Linked DNA regions of Homo sapiens: region 1 is linked to region 2. The links are contacts of gene promoters, found by promoter capture Hi-C in human tissues and cell types (Jung and others, 2019). All regions are on one chromosome and are shown on one strand. The core of a region is centred on a gene start or on the middle of the fragment in contact, and the rest is flanking DNA. Distances in the headings are between cores, read along the strand shown. Region 1 holds the start of SLC7A5 (solute carrier family 7 member 5). Region 2 holds the start of FOXC2 (forkhead box C2).

Region 1 (4,864 bases), core at 937-3,436, 1.3 Mb before region 2:
TCAGGGACGTCTGAGAGGAGTAGATTTGCTGGATAAATCTAGAATGTTGTCATATGAAAACCCAGTAAAAACCGACAGAGGTGGCGTAATAGCTGTGTGACTTGAACACGCTCATGGCTGTTGTCACCCTTCCTGCTTAAGGGCTCCAGCACTTGCCAGGAGCCTGGCTCTGGGGGCACCAACCATGACTTGCACCAACTGTGCAGGGCCCCCTCTGTGCCGGTGGGGACCCCTGCACCTCCCTTATTAATTCTCACTCACCCTGGGCTCTCAGCTCCAGGTACCACCTCAGAAAAGTCTATCTGGACCTGCCTGGTCCCTGTCGCTGTCGCTGGCTCACCCTGTCATGTCCTTGGCTTATCATGGTTGTAATTTTATGCTTTGGGGTATGACTGTTGGTTGCCTTTCTTGTTACTCAAAGAAGAATGGTGGAATGATTAAAAGTACCATATAAGTTCAGAGTCAAAAGGACAGCTCCCAGGCTACTTGCTGGCCGGACAAGCGAGGTAACCCTACCAAGCCTCAGCTTCCTTATTTGCAAAATGGCTCTAACTGGCACCTACCCTATTGCATAAGAAGCTGTCTAGGGGAGGACTCAGTGAGCACTCGGTGAGTTTGCCCAGCCATGGTGGTACTGTCTCCTTCCCTCTGCAGGCACAGCGGGAAGAATAGGGCAGATGGAGGGGTCTCTGCACCTTCCACAGCCAGCAATGTGGACGGCAGATTACAAGTTAGTATCTGTGTGACCTCCGCACTCCCCCGCCTGTGGCTGCCTGGGCTGCTGAGATTTCGCTCGGTTTTATCACCGCAGAGGAATGCCCGACATACCGGGGGGCGAGCAAGGTCCAGAATGACAAGCCCTGGCATTCCTCAGCCGCCCCCTCCCTGGGGTGGGGCCTGGACATTCCTGGCTGCAGCTAGAGGTCCCAGCACGACAGGGATTCTGACCCCCCTCCACCACGGCTATTGTTCAGAATTCTGTGGATTCCAGAGGCATCTGCCCAGCAGACTGTCTTGCTGTGAACACCCAGCTCTGCAACCGGTGTTTGCGTGTTTGCCCTGGGAGGCTGAACGCTCACCCAGAACAAAGGCCTCCCCACATGCCTGCTGTGAGCTTCCAAGGACTCGTTTGCACACACGCCAAGGAACCCCGGGGTGGGGTGATACTGAGGAGCTTCCTCCCTGACCCACACACACCCTTTGAACAGGTCTTTGGCCGCTCACCAGTCTGGTCAATCTCGGGGCAGTATTTATATTCCTTCCCATTTCCAGGCCTAGGAGCCTTGGCATCCTGCTCTCGCCTCTAACTGAAATTACCTCTCAACCCTTTTTAGCTAAGATGCCTCTCGCATTCCCTAGGAATAACAAGCTTTAAAGCCCCTTCACACTGAAGCCTGCCTTTGAATTCCCCAGGTAGATTTGGGGGTGGGGGTCTTATGGCTCCCAGCGAACCCCCGGTTCTGTTGATTAAATTGAGCTCAGGCAGATTGCTGGCTTCCCAAAGCCTGTGTTATTACTGCTTCTCAAAGCTACGGGCACCGGATCGCCGTCTTTGGCAAGATTCTTTTGGGATACAATGGGAATTACTGGGTGGCCTCGGTTCGGTTCTTCCCTCGTCCCAGTTCGCGGCTCACCAGCCCCACTGATGCAGCCCCCAGGCTGGAAGGAGGCTGCAGGAGCTTCCCCTCAGGTCATCCTCTCATCCCTCCCCCGTGCCCCAGGAGCTGGTTGTGGGGGCGGTTCCATCCCCTCGGCCCATCCGGGACAGGAGCCTAGGTTCCCTTCGGGGGGTACCCCAAACTCCATCCTTGGCCTCAGGCCAGCCCTGGTGCACTGCCCGCTCCCAGGCTTGACGAGAGGCTGCGGGCCAGTGGGTGAAGGGGCGCGCCCTGACTGCCAGGCCCCGCCCAGGCGCATCCGGGAGGACGGGCTGGGATGACGCGGGCGCCGGGAGGGGGGAGGTCGCGAGGCCGGGGTCTCCATGGCGCAGGAGGACTGGGGCCTTCGAGGACCACGCGGGCCTGGGAATAGCCCGCCAGGCTGGGCCGGACGACGCACGTGCTCCGAGCTGGGCCGAGGGGGCGGGGCTGAGGGACGGGGCCGGGCCACGGGGCGGGGAGGAGCCGCGGACGGTGGGCGGGGCCGGCGGGCCGGGGCCTAAAAGGCGGCGCGGGCGGGGTTCCTGACGCAGCTGCGGGCGGCGGGCGGCGCGCACACTGCTCGCTGGGCCGCGGCTCCCGGGTGTCCCAGGCCCGGCCGGTGCGCAGAGCATGGCGGGTGCGGGCCCGAAGCGGCGCGCGCTAGCGGCGCCGGCGGCCGAGGAGAAGGAAGAGGCGCGGGAGAAGATGCTGGCCGCCAAGAGCGCGGACGGCTCGGCGCCGGCAGGCGAGGGCGAGGGCGTGACCCTGCAGCGGAACATCACGCTGCTCAACGGCGTGGCCATCATCGTGGGGACCATTATCGGCTCGGGCATCTTCGTGACGCCCACGGGCGTGCTCAAGGAGGCAGGCTCGCCGGGGCTGGCGCTGGTGGTGTGGGCCGCGTGCGGCGTCTTCTCCATCGTGGGCGCGCTCTGCTACGCGGAGCTCGGCACCACCATCTCCAAATCGGGCGGCGACTACGCCTACATGCTGGAGGTCTACGGCTCGCTGCCCGCCTTCCTCAAGCTCTGGATCGAGCTGCTCATCATCCGGCCTTCATCGCAGTACATCGTGGCCCTGGTCTTCGCCACCTACCTGCTCAAGCCGCTCTTCCCCACCTGCCCGGTGCCCGAGGAGGCAGCCAAGCTCGTGGCCTGCCTCTGCGTGCGTGAGTACGGGGCGCGGGCCGGGGGTTGGGAGGTCGTAGTCTCTGGGTCCCTGCATCCTTGCATCACTACGCCCCTGGCTCCCACATCTCTACATCTTTACGTTCCTGGACCATCCCGGCAGTTCTAGGCTAAGGTCATTGGTCCCAGAAACCACGTGCGTTTCTTTCATTCATTCTTTTACACTTCTCCCCACAGGCTGGGAATATCTTCAGTGACGGGACAGCAGGGTCCCTGCCCTGCCCTTCGGTGGGCATTCCATTCCCCCACTTAAGCGGTTTAGGCAAGTGCCACCCTCCCGTTGGCCCCGCTGAGCAATACTCCCAGCCTCTTGCGTGGCACCCACGTGGAGTAACTGAGCAATCGGTTTACTGTTAGAGCTCCGATTGCTGACTGGTTGGTGAGAAGGAAATTGCAGTTAAAAAAAAAATCATTCATTTCTGCTCTCCACACCAGCTCGTCAGGAATCAGTGACACGGGCTGACTCATAAGAAAACAGTAGTAATAACATCGTGTGCGGGTAGTGACTGGTGCTGATTTAGGCTAAGGGATCCCCCCTGAGGGTTCCCAGTAGTGAGAGAGCGGAGCTTGGCTGCAGATTCAGTCTGTGTTGCAGTGAATGGACGTGCGGGTCCCAGGTTTCTCTGGGAAACAGCCATGGGGCTCCTGTTTTGGTGGGCATGGTGCTGGTGTGTTCTTCACCAGGCCAGAGATAACTGCTTTTCAAAATAGTTTTCTTTTTCTTTTTCTTTCTTTTTTTTTTTTTTTTTTGACACTGAGTCCCGCTCAGTCGCCCAGGCTGGAGTACAGTGGCACGATCTCGGCTCACCGCAAGCCCGCCTCCCAGGTTCATGCCATTCTCCTGGCTCAGCCTCCCGAGTAGCTGGGACTACAGGTGCCCGCCACTACGCCCGGGTAATTTTTTTTGTATTTTTAGTAGAGACGGCGTTTCACCGTGTTAGCCAGGATGGTCTCGATCTCCTGACCTTGTGATCCGCCCGCCTCGGCCTCCCAAAGTGCTGGGATTACAGGCGTGAGCCACCGTGCCCGGCCTCAAAATAGTTTTCTTGTGGGATTTCAGGGGGAAAATCACTTGTAGCAGATGCCACATGATTTGGTTGGGTGGCGTGGGAAGGTGGGTCTTGGCAATTCTCAGATTCATCCCATGGCATGGATCGGCCTGCATCTCAATAGTGTGTGTACACATTCAAGGTGGGAAGGGCTAATTTATAGTTGGGGTCTTGAGCCATGAAATCAGGGGAGTGGCTTCTGACTGGCAGGACCTGTTGGCGCTGTTTTCTGCCACACCGTACTTTGGGGGGGAGGGGGAGGGGGAGGCATTTCTTCATAAATGTGAGAATGCCCCGAGGGCAAGACTCAGCAGGGCTCTGTGTGGTTTCTCTGAGGCTCTGAGTCGAGCAGCCGCACCACCATGCAGGTCAAAGCCGGGAAAAATCGTAGCAGGACAGCAGTGGGGAGAGCCTGTGCCTTCCAGCTGGGCGTTGGAGATGTGAATGTAGGGGATGACTCTGATTTCTTTTTTTGTCATTAGAATTTCACTGGTTCAGTCTCCCTCCCGCCTAGGTACATGTCGGCCCGGTATGTAACGACATGGATAGTAGCTTACGCAGCCTGCACTCTTATCTTTAAAAAATGAACCCCTGGTTGGCTGGGTGTGATGGCCCACGCCTATAATCCCAGCACTTTGGGAGGCCGAGACGGGCGGATCTACCGAGGTCAGGAGTTCGAGACCAGCCTGACCAACATGGTGAAACCCCATCTCTACTAAAAATACAAAAATTAGCCGGGCAGAGTGGCTCACGCCTGTAATCCCAGCTGCTTATGAGTCTGAGGCATGCTCCGGGATGTGGAGGTTGCAGTGAGTTGAGATCCCGCCACTGCACTCCAGTCTGGGTGACAGAGCAAGCCTGTCTCAAAAAAAAAAAAGCAGCCCCTGGGTGCTGAGTCTCTGACTTCCTGCTGGTGCCAGGAGTGAGTCGTGGGAAATGCTTCATTGGCCACCAGGAAGGAGACGTAGGATGGGGCGCTGCCTAGTTT
Region 2 (4,816 bases), core at 2,177-4,676:
AACGCTAGAAAATCCGTCCCCTTCAGACCTTCATTGGCCCAGTTCAAATTCTCTGGAAAACTATTAAAGCAGGCAAAGAGGCTCAAATTTTATAAAATCGGGGGAAAGCAGGACTCACCCTGGGTTGCAGTTAGCAAACGGGAAATGTTTATTCTTCCCTTCCTTCACCTCCTAAACTGGGGACGGCTGGACACTGAGATGGAGTGGCACTGTTTGTTTTGACAATTAGCATGTTTTTGTGCATTTAAGAAAATGCATCACGGCAAACTCATGGTCCGGTCCTTCAGGCAGCCCCCTCCAACTGGGCGGTTTCTCGAAAAGAAAAAATCCTAGAGTGGGATTTTAAAATTAATCAAAAGCCTTTTTCTGTCACTAAACAAGACAGCAGGTGTGTGCTCCTATTCTCTGGTCGTTTTTATGTGTCTACACATATACCCACCTGTGTAACAAAAATAATCAAAGCAGGTGGGTTTGCAAACACACCTCGTTTGTAAAAAATGCAACAACACAAACACACTGTCCAAACTTTGGGCAGAAAAAACAACATGGGTTTATTTTAAGGTAAGTACAACGATTAAGACCACGTAAGACAAACACAGATGAAGTTAGAGTTTTTAAGCTTTTTTTTTTTTTTTCTTTTAGGAATACTCAGGGTGGAACCTACTATACAAAACCATCACACTTTGTAAATAAAAAGTATCAGATACTTGACTTCTTTATCCACCAACAAAAAAATAAATTATTTTCTTGTTTTGTAAAAGACCTACAATGGGAAAAAGAATTATATCTCATAATTGTACAGGAAACAAAACCCACATCGGTTTCTTGAATTCAATTTGGCAGTTAGAAATGGTTGGGCAAGATGAAAAACTTATCCAGTGAACTCAACTTTAAATATTATATTAATGGCTCTGAACAACAACAACAACAACAAAATAGCCTGATTACAAATCCACACATTTGTACAGCACGGTTGGAGAAATTTAAAATTACACACAGCACATATATTATCTATAGAGACCCCCATACACCTATGGGGACCCCTACAGAAAGTCACTAGGGGCTCGCTATGGGATTTGGTCCATAACTTAACTTTTGAAAGCTCAGGTCGAGCACAGCACAGCCGTCCTGGTAGGGGAGGGGGATTTTAAGATCAATACTCATTTTGTTGGGCTGCGTCCCTTTGGAGGGGTTTCCTGGGATCCCAGAAACGGGGCGGCGAATTAAAGTTACCTGCGCTCTTCACAGACGGCTGGGGGCTAGCGTGCCCGCTCTCTGCTCCCGGGTCTGAGAAAAGGTTGGTGGACATGTTTTGTTTCTTTTTTGCGTCTCTGCAGCCCCTTAATTGTCTGGTTGGGTCGGGGCTGGGAAGCGAAGCCGGAGCGGGCCGGGGAGGGGAGGTCCCGGGACACGTCAGTATTTCGTGCAGTCGTAGGAGTAGGGGGCTGCGTGGCGATAGAGAGGCGGCGTGGATCTGTAGGGCAGCTGGCAGCTGGCATTGCCACTCACCTGGGACTCCCCGAGGGTCGAGTTCTCAATCCCCAGCCGGTGGGAGTTGAACATCTCCCGCACGTTGGGGAAAGTTTGCTGCTGGGCCGCGAACGTGTGGCCGGGGAGGTGGTTCAGGTCCCCGCTGTGGTTGAGATACCAGGAGGCCGCCTGCGCCGCGGCGGCCCCGGGCTGCGGCGTCGGCTGGGGCTGGGGAGCCGGCGGGGGCGGCGGCGCCTGCGGGTGGTGGTGGCCGTGGTGCTGGTGGTGGTGGCCCGTGGCGGCGAGCGCGCCCTCCTGGCCGGCGGCGAGGTTGAGAGCGCTCAGGGGCGACGTGGGGCCGCTCGGGTGGTCCGAGAGGGCCTCGTCCAGGGCGGGCGGGACGCACATGTGCGCCGGCCGCTCGGCCCCGGTGTACAGGCTCATCGCTCGCATGCTGCACTGGTAGCCCCCGGCGGCCCCGGCCTCCAGGCCCTGAGCGCACGGCTGGCCGTAGGCGGCGGGCGGCGCGGCGGCGTAGGGCAGCGCCAGCGGCGGCACCACCAGGCCCGCGCGTCCGGCCCCCGGGCTCAGCTCTCCGCCCGGCGGCGACGTTCGCAGGGTCATGATGTTCTCCACGCTGAAGCCAGGCAGCCCGTTGGGCGCCGCGGCGTGGTGCTCCGGCAGCGAGCCGTCGGGGGAGCCGGCGGGCGTGGAGGCCGCGCTGCGCGGGCTGCCCTGCAGCGCGCTCTCGGGGCTCAGCGTCTCCACCTTGGTGATGACCGGCAGCGCCGGGGACGCCGCCTCGCTCTTGATCACCACCTTCTTCTCGGCCTCCTTGGGGGCGTCCGCTAGGTGGGGGGTGGCCGGGGCGCCCTTGGACGCCGCCGGGGGCGGCTCCTTGAGGTGGGCCCGCTCCTCCTTCTCCTTGGACACGTCCTTCTTTTTGAAGCGCCGCCGGCGCCGCAGGAAGCTGCCGTTCTCGAACATGTTGTAGGAGTCCGGGTCCAGGGTCCAGTAACTGCCCTTGCCGGGCTTCTTGTCGTCGCGGGGCACCTTGACGAAGCACTCGTTGAGCGAGAGGTTGTGGCGGATGCTGTTCTGCCAGCCCTGCTTGTTCTCCCGGTAGAAGGGGAAGCGGTCCATGATGAACTGGTAGATGCCGTTCAAGGTGATCTTCTTCTCGGGCGCGTTCTGGATGGCCATGGTGATGAGCGCGATGTAGCTGTAGGGCGGCTTCACCAGGTCCTTAGGCGCCGCGGGCTGGTGGTGGTGGTAGGGCGCGTAGGAGCGGCCCATCCCCGCGCTGTACTGCTCCGGGTGGCCGGAATAGACGCCCATGGGGCTGGCCATGCCGCCGTAGCTGCCCGCAGCCCGGTAGTAATTCTGCTCGCTCAGGTAGGGCACCACTCCCAGGGCGTTGGGGTCGGACACGGAGTAGCGCGCCTGCATGCTGCTTCCGAGACGGCTCGCCGGCGCCCTCGCGCACGGACTGCGGCCGGGGGAGCGAGGGGGGCCCTGAGAGCGAGAGAGCGCGAGAGAGCCAGAGGGGGAGAGGAGGGGAGCGGGAGGGGCGGCCCCGGGCTCCTGGCAGCCTCCGGGGCGAGGGTGCGCGGGCGGCGGCGCTCGGGCCGAGCAGGGGCGCGCGCTTTCAGCGGACCGGGCGGATCGGCATCCTGGAGGGCGCGCCCCGGGCAAGCGCAGCGCCGGCCCCGCTCCTCGCTGGCTCCAGGACCCGGCGGCGGCAGCGCGGGCAGGCGGGCGGCCGCGGACCCAGCGGAGACGCCGCGGCCTGGGGACCCAGGTGGACCCTCGGCCCGCGCGAGGAGGGGCGCAGGAGGCTCTCCAAGCCCCCAGCGAATCGGCAGCCCCGAGGGTCAGCGCGCCGGGGTCCGAGCGGCTGCCCCGCTGAGCCCAGAAAAAGAGGCCAAGTCCCTTTTAGGGATTGGGAAAAGTTTCAAAAGTCTTCTTGCTGAAAGCGAGTTTTTACTTTCCTCGGGCCACGCCCCCTCCCGGAACTTTGAGCCAATCACCCGGCAGCTGAGAGGAGTCGGCGCCAATCGGGGCGAGGAGCGCAGGAATCCGTCGGCTCTAAGACCCCGCCGCCCCGGCCTCCGCGGCGACTCCGTCTTCACTTGAAAACTTTTTAAAAAGTTATATCTTATTAAAATTTATTTTATGATCACATTTTGGTGAATGGGCCCACATGCCCAAAACAAAAAGATAGCCACTTTCCTCTGTTAAAAAAAATCAATTTGAAATATAAAATAGAATGGATTAATAGAGTAAAATATCTCTCCCAAAGACCTTGTAAGTAGCAATGATCCTGGGACATTTTTCTTATTAATGAGTGATGAAGCGAATAATTAGATTTCCTAATTATGGGGGCCCAGGTGTAATGGATTCAAAGCAAACGCGCTGGATTGGAATGGCAGGGCCTCTCCTGGATGTTATACTTATTTAATCAAATAATTAATCATCAACAGGGAGTTTCCAGGCTCGGGGTCGTCAAGGATAACCTATCGAGGTTTTAGAGGTAAACCCTACAAACTGAGTTTCCCTCGCTCCCCGCCGAGGAGCCAGGCAGCGGAGTGCATAGAGGGGAAGGTAGCAACGTGCTGACTGACAACTTAATCCTCCGAATTCGCGGGGAATTCGGTAGATCATCCGCGTCGCTGCGAGCAGTTTTGTGGGGTTTGGGGAAAAGGGTGAAGTGACTCTGCTATTTCCCCCTTTCGTCTCCCGCGTGGACACTCGCAGCCTACCAACTTCAGCTTCGAAACTCGTCTCCCTTTTCCCAGGTAGAAATTCCCTCTAACAAGCTGACCCCGCACTCCCAGAAGACCGGGACAATGCAGCGACCCACCCGGGCCAGGCAGAGCCGAGTTCCTGGGCCCTGCGAGGAGAAACCCGAGCCTGTTTTCCGCGGGGGCTTGGCTCGAAGGCGCGCGCAATGAGCGCCGCGCACCGCGGGCACCAAGCGTGGACGTTTCCCGTGGCCCAGGCCGGCGCCGGCCGCTAACACCGACCCTAGGGCGCTGTCCCTGCCTCCTGCTCCTGGCAACGTCCCCCTGGGAGCCTCCAAGTTGCTTTTCTATATTTCAGCCTTTTTTTTGTTTTGTTGGGTGGGTAGGGTGAGTTAGGGAGCGCGCTCCGTGGGAAGACTGGGTGAGCGGTTGATTGCAAACGGTTCAAGATCCCTTCGGGATGATATTATTCGGCAGGCAGACCTGGAGCGACTTGGATCTCCTTCAAGGATTTCTCCTTCCCTCTAGGAATCCCGGACAGTTTGTTTATTTGTGGACTGATTATTTATTCCTTCCACACCTCAATAATCAGATCCCCTTTT

What was found. The method cuts DNA at HindIII sites, captures the fragments that hold promoters and counts their contacts. A contact is called where the count stands out against the background at its distance.
Region 1: a contact is called between the fragment with the promoter of SLC7A5 here and the fragment with the promoter of FOXC2 in region 2, in 1 of the 25 tissues and cell types used here (dorsolateral prefrontal cortex).

Annotation. Positions count from the first base shown.
Region 1 is chr16:87,866,829-87,871,692 of GRCh38, reverse strand. It overlaps SLC7A5 (solute carrier family 7 member 5), which reads left to right and starts at 2,186. Exons shown (of 10, transcript NM_003486.7): 1 at 2,186-2,808. The coding sequence starts at 2,271. RefSeq lists a cis regulatory region at 1-149, enhancers at 111-872, 229-1,428, 873-1,632 and a silencer at 1,873-2,222. The HindIII fragment of the contact is 6,482 bases long and covers 131-4,864 here.
Region 2 is chr16:86,565,439-86,570,254 of GRCh38, reverse strand. It overlaps FOXC2 (forkhead box C2), which reads right to left and starts at 3,426. Exons shown (of 1, transcript NM_005251.3): 1 at 527-3,426. The coding sequence starts at 2,919. The coding sequence ends at 1,414. It overlaps FOXC2-AS1 (FOXC2 antisense RNA 1), which reads left to right and starts at 2,494. Exons shown (of 2, transcript NR_125795.1): 1 at 2,494-2,638. RefSeq lists enhancers at 2,123-2,706, 2,707-3,291. The HindIII fragment of the contact is 12,739 bases long and covers 138-4,816 here.